Regions from separate parts of the Homo sapiens genome. Here region 1 is linked to region 2. Evidence: promoter capture Hi-C in 16 types of primary human blood cells and fetal thymus (Javierre and others, 2016). All regions are on one chromosome and are shown on one strand. The core of a region is centred on a gene start or on the middle of the fragment in contact, and the rest is flanking DNA. Distances in the headings are between cores, read along the strand shown. Region 1 overlaps TNFRSF10B (TNF receptor superfamily member 10b). Region 2 holds the start of EGR3 (early growth response 3).

Region 1 (3,468 bases), core at 480-2,979, 340 kb before region 2:
ACCCAGATACTTGGCCAAATATTATCCTAGATGTTTCTGTGAAGGTGTGTTTGTTGTTGTTGTTTTGTTGTTGGTTTTAGATGGGATTAACATTTAAATCAGTGGGCTTTGAGTCAAGCAGATTACCCCCTTAATGTTGGCAGGTCCCATCTAATCAGTTGAAAGCCTCAATAGAAAAAAGACTGACCTCCACCAAGAAAGAGGGTGTTCTGCCAGCAGGCAGCCTTCAGACCTGAGCTGTGACTCTTCTCTGCTGGCCTATCCTGTACCTTTTGAATTTGCCAGCCTCCACAGTTATGTGAACCAATTCCTTAAGATAAATCTTTATCTCTCTAGAGCAGGGGCCCCTGACCCCCAGGCCATGGACCAGTACTGGTCCGTGGCCTGTTAGGAACCAGGCCACACAGCAGGAGGTGGGCTGTAGATGAGTGAGCATTACTGCCCGAGCTCTGCATGCCGTCAAATCAGCGGCAGCATTAGACTTCATAGGAGCGTGAACCCTATTGTGAACTCCACATTTGAGAGATCTAGGTTGCGCACTCCTTATGAGAATCTAATGCCTGATGATCTGTCACTGTCTCCCATCACCCCCAGATAGGACCATCTAGTTGCAGGAAAATAAACTCAGGGCTTCCACTGATTCTACGTTATAGTGAGTTGTATAATTATTTCATTATATGTTACCATATAATAGTGATAGAAATAAAGTGCACAATAAATGTAACATGCTTGAATCATCCTGAAACCATCCCCATGCCCCCAACTCCAGTCCGTGGAAAAATTGTCTTTCAGGAAACCAGTCCCTGGTGGCAAAAATGTTGGAGACCCCTGCTCTAGAGAGCCCTGACTAATACAGAATTTTTAAAGATTTGAAATTCTTTTAAACCATACTTGATCTCCAAGTAATGGAAATAATAAGATTATATTTCCACCTAACATAATACAGCTATCCTGTATACAACTGAAAACGCACTAACCCTTTCTCCAGAAGAGGATGCAAAGTTCTTGAGTGGTGTTTACTCCTTTCCTTGATACCCTGGAACATAAATACTATAAAGTGAACAATACTTAAATACTATGATATAAATTCAAAATATCTTGTGTTACATAACAAGGGGATAAGAGAAGGAAGAAAACACAGATATTCGCTTAACATATATTTACACATAAACACACACACATAACACAATAAGGAAGAAATACTTATAATGATTACAGTCCTTATTTCCATAGCTGGTCATGTCATTGTAGCTGGTATTTATAAGAAGCTTCTTTCGCTGTGCATTCTGTATTCCCTGTGCCCTCACTAAGCACCTCAGCTGGTCATGGCTCTGTGCCTGGTAGAGTGAACTAACCTTTATTCCTGAAGGGTCTGAGCTATAAGTGGTCCTGCTTTAATAGGGTCGTGGTAGTTTTCCATTGACTTTACTCACAGGGCATGGTAATACTAAGAGATGCCCTAAGGAATCTCCTGTATTCTAGACATCCTCTTCCTTACGTCCATTGTGGAATAACAGTCCAATTTTCCCTTCAATTTCCCCTTTGTGTTCAGAATCAGTCAATCCAGCCAGCAGGGTTTGTGTAACTGGTTTTCGCCTGTTGATTCAGAGGCATGAGGAACCCAAAGTGGCCAAGTGGCAGTCTTCAAGTTACACAGAATCACTGTTGTGTCTCCTCATGGAATCATTCCTCCCTCTGAAACTCAGAGCTCTAGCAAAGCATAAAGCAGCAAAAATTTTGATAACAGGCCACTAAGGGTAATGTGGAGTGGGGCCATTCCTGCTTCCACCCCTAGATTCCTGGACACATGAATCCTAGCAATGGAAGAAGCAACCGCATGTATTGGAGGATAATTCAGAGCATAGACAGTCTCCTGGAGAACCTTGTTGCAGCCCTTCAAGGTACTGCCACCCAGCTGACATTGTAAATGAGTTTTCAAAAAGCCATATCCCACCATCTTACCAAGCCAGCAGTTTTGAGATGGTGGGGAACATGGTAAGACCAGTAATTCCATGAGCACAGGCCCATTATAGTGGGCGCTTCATTTGCCATCAAGTGAGTCCCTCAATCAGAAGCAATGCTGTGTGAATACCATGACTGTGGATAAGGCATTCTGTGAGTCCACAGAGGATAGTTTTGACAGAAGCATTGCATGCAGGGAAGGCAAGTCTATGTGCAAAATAAGCTTCTCTTCCAGTAAAAATGCTGCCCCCTCCATGATAGAAATGGTTCAGTGTAATAATCAACCTGCCACCAGGTAGCTGGCAGACTGACCCTCTGAATGGTGCTATATCAGAGACTCAGTGTTGGACTCTGCTGCCTATAGATTGGGCACTCAGTAGCAGCTGTAGCCAGGTTGGCCTTGGTGAGGGAAGTCTGTATTGTTAAGCCCATACATAACCTCCATCCCTGCCACCATGCACACTTTGTTCATGAGCCCATTGAGTGATGACAAGGATGGCTGGGAAAGAAGCTGACTGGTAGTCACAGAACAGGTCATCCTATCCACCTGATTATTAAAATCCTTCCCTGCTAAGATCACTTTTTGTGAAGATATTTGTGTCACATGGGGCACAAATATCTTCATGGTTTTTTTACCCATTGAGAAAGGTCTATCCACACACCTCTTCCCCAGACTTCCTTGTTATCAGTTTTCCTTCAGAGCCTCTGACCCTCCAGCCAAATCATTGACCACAGCTCATGAATCAGTATATAACTACATGTCTAGCCATTCTTCCCTCAAGCAAAATGAACAACCAGGTGTACTGCTCAGAGTTCTGCCCAGTGGCAGGATCTCTTTTTTTTGAGACGGAGTTTCGCTATTGTTGCCCGGGCTAGAGTGCAATGGGGCGACCTCGGCTCACTACAACCTCTGCCTCCCGGGTTCAAGTGATTCCCCTGCCTCAGCCTCCCAAGTAACTGGGATTACAGGCATGTGCCACCATGCTCGGTAATTTTGTATTTTTAGTAGAGACGAGGTTTCACCATGTTGGTCAGGCCAGTCTCGAACTCCTGACCTCAGGTGATCCACTCACCTCGGCCTCCCAAAGTGCTGGGATTACAGGTGTGAGCCACCACACCCGGCCTAGCGGATTTCTTTTCACCACTGTCCTTCAGGGACGTCCCAGACAGTGGATGTGATGCTGCAAACATCCACTTCTAAGGGTTACCTGTATGTGGTGCAGAACCATCTGTAAACCTTCTTCTGGCAACTGACCATAGGGAATTCCTCATGAGGCCATAAGTGCAGGCCAGGCAAAAGAAAGTAATATTGCAGGAGTGGGGATCATGGGCACTTGGGCCACTTCTTCATGTAACTTTCTTGTGCCTTCAGGGCCTATTTAAGCCCAATTTTGTATATATACCAATTACATTTGAAAATGGAAATGGAAACTTTAGGCTGTATGTGCCCAAACTTATGGCTTGGTAGGCAAAATAACACTCAGTTCACGATGAGCAGTCAGGTCG
Region 2 (4,010 bases), core at 1,388-3,887:
TGGGAGAGAGGCCGTCTCCTCCAGTTGGGAGTGGCTGCACTCCACAGCCTCTGGGGCCCTGGAAGCTTAAGGATCCCAAATGCTTCCACTGCCTCTGCCTTTCCCAACTCAGGCCCCAGTCGAACAGGATAAGGGCTTCTAGCTCCTCACTCTGCAGCCCCTCCTGGGGAGAGATCCTGACAGGTGGAAAGTGGGTGCATCACGGTGGGGTCCTCCGGAGTTGAGCTGGGCGGCCCGGAGGCCTCTCACTTCCTTCCCACCACCCCCGCAGGCTGAGCTCTGCCTCGCGCGGGGAGACATGGGCACTGCAGCCTTCGGGCCTGCAGCTCGCCCAGGACCGCGGACCCCACAGCGTCTCCCGGCCCCAGGCAGGAACCCGTGGAGACCCTCCGCAGCCTCCGGGTGCACGCGCAGCAGGAAGCACTCTGGAGGGGCCAGGTCTGGGACTGGCGCGCCCGAAGCTCGCTGGTTGCCGCCCCTCCCTGGCCCTCCCTGCTGCCGGGCTCTACGGCCAGAGGCCAGAGCCGCTGGCTAATTTTTCAGGCCCCCACCCCCACCCCCACCGCCTCCCTGGGTGACGCTACAGCCTGTGCGGTTCCTTTAAAGGCTGCGGGTTCCGTTCTTCTTTCCTTTTCCACTGGATGCCAAAATATGCAAATCTTGGGACCGGAATCTGCAGCCAAATCGAGAAGGAGAAGGGGCGCGGCCGGCGCGTCACCGGATCCGCTCCTTGTATGGCTCTTCCCGGCTTGGCCCGCCGCCCTGCGACCCTCCCCGCAGCCGCCCGGGCCCCTCCCGCACCTAGCCCGGCTCACACCGCCGCCCACGCCCCCCGACCGGCCGCGCGCCCCCCCTAAGGGAGGGAGCCGGGGGCGGGAGGCGCAGCCTGCCCTGATTCTGACCGGAGCGCGGGACCGCTGCAGCGCTCTCCCTCCCTGAGCCGCGCTGGCGGAGGACAGCCCGGGGGGCGCTGTGGCTCCCTAGTATAGGAGTGGGGAGCCTGGCGGGAGAGGCGGCGGGGGTGGAGAGAGGGGGCTCGCGGGAGGCGGGAATCCCTCCTTTCCTAAGAACTGGAGAAGATGGGGGGAGGCCGGGCCCTCCGGTCCCCAGCCCTCCACTGAGTGGAGGGGAGGGGAGGGGAGCGAGGTTGTCATCCACCTCCACCACAACGTGCAGCTCGGGAGTTCCTCCCACACGTCCCCGGCCCGCGTGGCCCTCCCACGGCGTGAGGCCCGGGGATCCTCTCTTCTTCCTTGTCAACACTCCCACTCCCCCCGAGAAATGCACGTTCCCCCAACCCCGACTCCCCAGGAGGGGACGAGGGATTCACCGCGCCCACGCGGCCACCGAGGAGGGAATCCTCCCCCGCCAAGCCGATGTGATTTGGGGTCGCACCCCCATGCTCCCGCCCTCTCCTCCCCCTCGCCCGCGGGCCGGCTGCGCGCGCCTCGGGAGCAGGCCCCAGGGAGCACAGCAGCCGCCCCCGGGATCTGCTGCCGCTCCGGGAGGTGAAAGCGCTCCGGGTCGGCACACAGGCCGCCCTTGACTGCGGAGCGCCGGCAGGCAGCAATGGGGACAGCCCTGTGGAAGGCGAGGGGGAGGGCAGAGACTAGGGGAGGCCCCCAGTGGCTCAGAGACTGTGGGTTCGGCGTCCTCCTTCTGGAACTCTGGCGGGCCCTTCGCAGGCAGCAGTAGACAGCGACTGCGCCCGGGCCTGCTGGGCCCTCCTGCCATCCTGTGGCCACAGAGGCTGCTTGGAACCGTTAGGGAATTTACTGGGGATTCAGTGCACGTGTTTATCTATCCCTTCAACTTCATTCTTTCCTCTTCACCACGAAAACCGCACATCCTCGACCCCATATGGATGGGGCTCTTGTCTTTGGCGCAACTGCTGGGGTGCTCCGAATCTCCTCGCCACTGCGCTCAGCCTAGAGTCAGCGCCGGGTCAGGGGCCCAGGGAGGGGCAGGGGCGGCGAATCAGAGTGAAGTTGGCACAAAAGTTCTTGGGATATTGGACCAAGGAATTCTGACAAGTTGAAACACCCCCCCAACCCTGCGCGCACCCCTCCTTCCCCCCACAAAGGGAAGCACTCCCTTTCTCTTAATCTCGGATAGGATCCCGAACGCTGGAGCCGCTGAGGTAGCAGGGGCGCAACGCACGCCTTCCGGGTTCCCCAGCAGTTCCCGGGCTGCAAAGGGATTTCGCCAGATGTTTTCAACTCTCTTTCTAACTGCTGGGGTGTTGGAGACCACTTGCAAACAACCCCACCCCACCGCCCACCTCTCCCCAATGCGCTCTCCTAACGCAAACCTCAAATAAACACACACAATGAGTTACTGGTGTTTCGACTCCACGCTACGCGCTTTGCGCTTTGCATGCAGCTGTATCCTTCTTTCCTCTCTCTTCTCGCATTCTTCTTGTTTCTTCTCCCCTTCTCTTTTTTTCAAGAGCCGCGAGCGGTGCGGGCGCCGCACGTTGGCTGCGGCCCGCTTCCTGCTTTCTAATGTTCCATTGTGAGGAGCTTCCATTGTGACGTCGCGCCCCTTCGGCTGGGCTTTGTCTGTCCATATATGGGCAGCTACGTCACGGAGCTTTCCCGGGGCTCAGATAAATAGGCTGGTGGAGTTCCCTGGCTGGGAGCTTTTGGGCAGCAGTGAGCTTGCTAGGAAGCGGCGGGGCTGGTGGTGGTGGTAGCAGCGGCGGCAGCGGCGGCAGAGGCGGCGGCGGCGGCGGCGGCGGCGGCGGCGGTGGCGGTGGCGGTGGCGGTGGCAGATCGGGGGGCGGGGGGGCGGCGGGCGCGTGTCTGTTTGTGAGATCAATACTGAGGCCGCGTCCGACCCCCTTGAGCCGAGATCCCCCCCCAGCCCAGCCCCCACCCCACCCCCCGCACACGCCCCACCCCCCCCACGACCCAGCCTCATACCGCACCAGCTGAGGCACCCAAGAGGATTACCCCCTGGGGCCCTCTCCCGCCCCCCAAAAAAGAGAAGATCCCCTCTCCTGGCCCATCCCTTCCCTTCTTCCCTCCCCCCTCCCCCCGAACTTTCCCTCTCGCATGCTTTTCCCCTGCACCACGGATCGCCTCTCGGATGCCGCTTGCCTGGAAGCTGCGTTAGGAGCGAGCGGCGGCGGTGGCGGCGGTGGCGGCGGCGGCGGCAGCTCGGGAGTGCTATGACCGGCAAACTCGCCGAGAAGCTGCCGGTGACCATGAGCAGTTTGCTAAACCAACTGCCTGACAATCTGTACCCCGAGGAGATCCCCAGCGCGCTCAACCTCTTCTCCGGCAGCAGCGACTCGGTAGTCCATTACAATCAGATGGCTACAGGTAAGGGCGGCGGGGAGGCGGCGAGGCAGCGAGGAAGGAAGGGGAGAGGAAGAGGAGGAGGGGACGACCTGGTGATGGATGGATGGATGGATGGATGGATGGATGGATGGATGGGTGGATGGGTGGATAGATAAATGGATGGAGAGATGGGGGCGCGCTGGGAATTTTGCGGGGGGCGAGTTGCTTTTCCCACCCACTCCTCCCGCCCTCCTCGATCGAGAAGGCTAGGTTGGCGACGCCACGGTAGAGGCTTCGGTTCTCCCGGGTGGGGGCAGCCGCCGACCGGAGGGAGGTAGGTGCGAGCGGCTCTGGGGTTCTCCCTCACCACGCAGGGGGCCCGATCGCCGGGCTACGCGCAAGGCGTGGTGCTGTCGCCCTCTTCCCGGGAGGAGCCCGGCGTCTTTTTCACCCGCGCTCTCCCCCCTTACTCCCTCAGCCTCCCACCCGGGATGGAGCCATGTGCGGCGTGGAGTCCCCGCGGTGGGAGAGGTACTGCGACGCTGCCTTTCCGGGGCGTTCAGCAAAGCCGTGGGGGTGTGGGGACGGCGGGGAGAAGGAGGGGGTTCACCCGCGGGGCGAGGGCCTGCCACGGGGAACGATCCCGGGGCCGGGGAGCTGGGGAAGGGCGGCCTCTCCCGCCATGGAGACACCGGCCGGTTTTCCGCCGCTCTCCACCCTCCCTAG

What was found. The method cuts DNA at HindIII sites, captures the fragments that hold promoters and counts their contacts. A CHiCAGO score of 5 or more calls a contact.
Region 1: a contact is called between a fragment that was not itself captured here and the fragment with the promoter of EGR3 in region 2, in 1 of 17 cell types (M0 macrophages). The highest score is 5.0, in M0 macrophages.

Annotation. Positions count from the first base shown.
Region 1 is chr8:23,036,181-23,039,648 of GRCh38, reverse strand. All of the region lies in intron 2 of TNFRSF10B (TNF receptor superfamily member 10b), which reads left to right. Among named protein-coding and RNA genes, the nearest start is that of TNFRSF10B, 31 kb to the left of the region's middle. The HindIII fragment of the contact is 917 bases long and covers 1,271-2,187 here.
Region 2 is chr8:22,692,107-22,696,116 of GRCh38, reverse strand. It overlaps EGR3 (early growth response 3), which reads left to right and starts at 2,637. Exons shown (of 2, transcript NM_004430.3): 1 at 2,637-3,326. The coding sequence starts at 3,173. LOC105379321 (a long non-coding RNA gene) reads right to left here and starts at 1,260. Exons shown (of 3, transcript XR_001745832.2): 1 at 903-1,260; 2 at 585-673; 3 at 1-176. RefSeq lists silencers at 326-565, 1,346-1,565, 2,448-2,611, 2,556-2,675, 3,538-3,607 and 1 more and enhancers at 1,676-1,775, 1,816-1,925, 1,758-2,403. The HindIII fragment of the contact is 8,376 bases long and covers 68-4,010 here.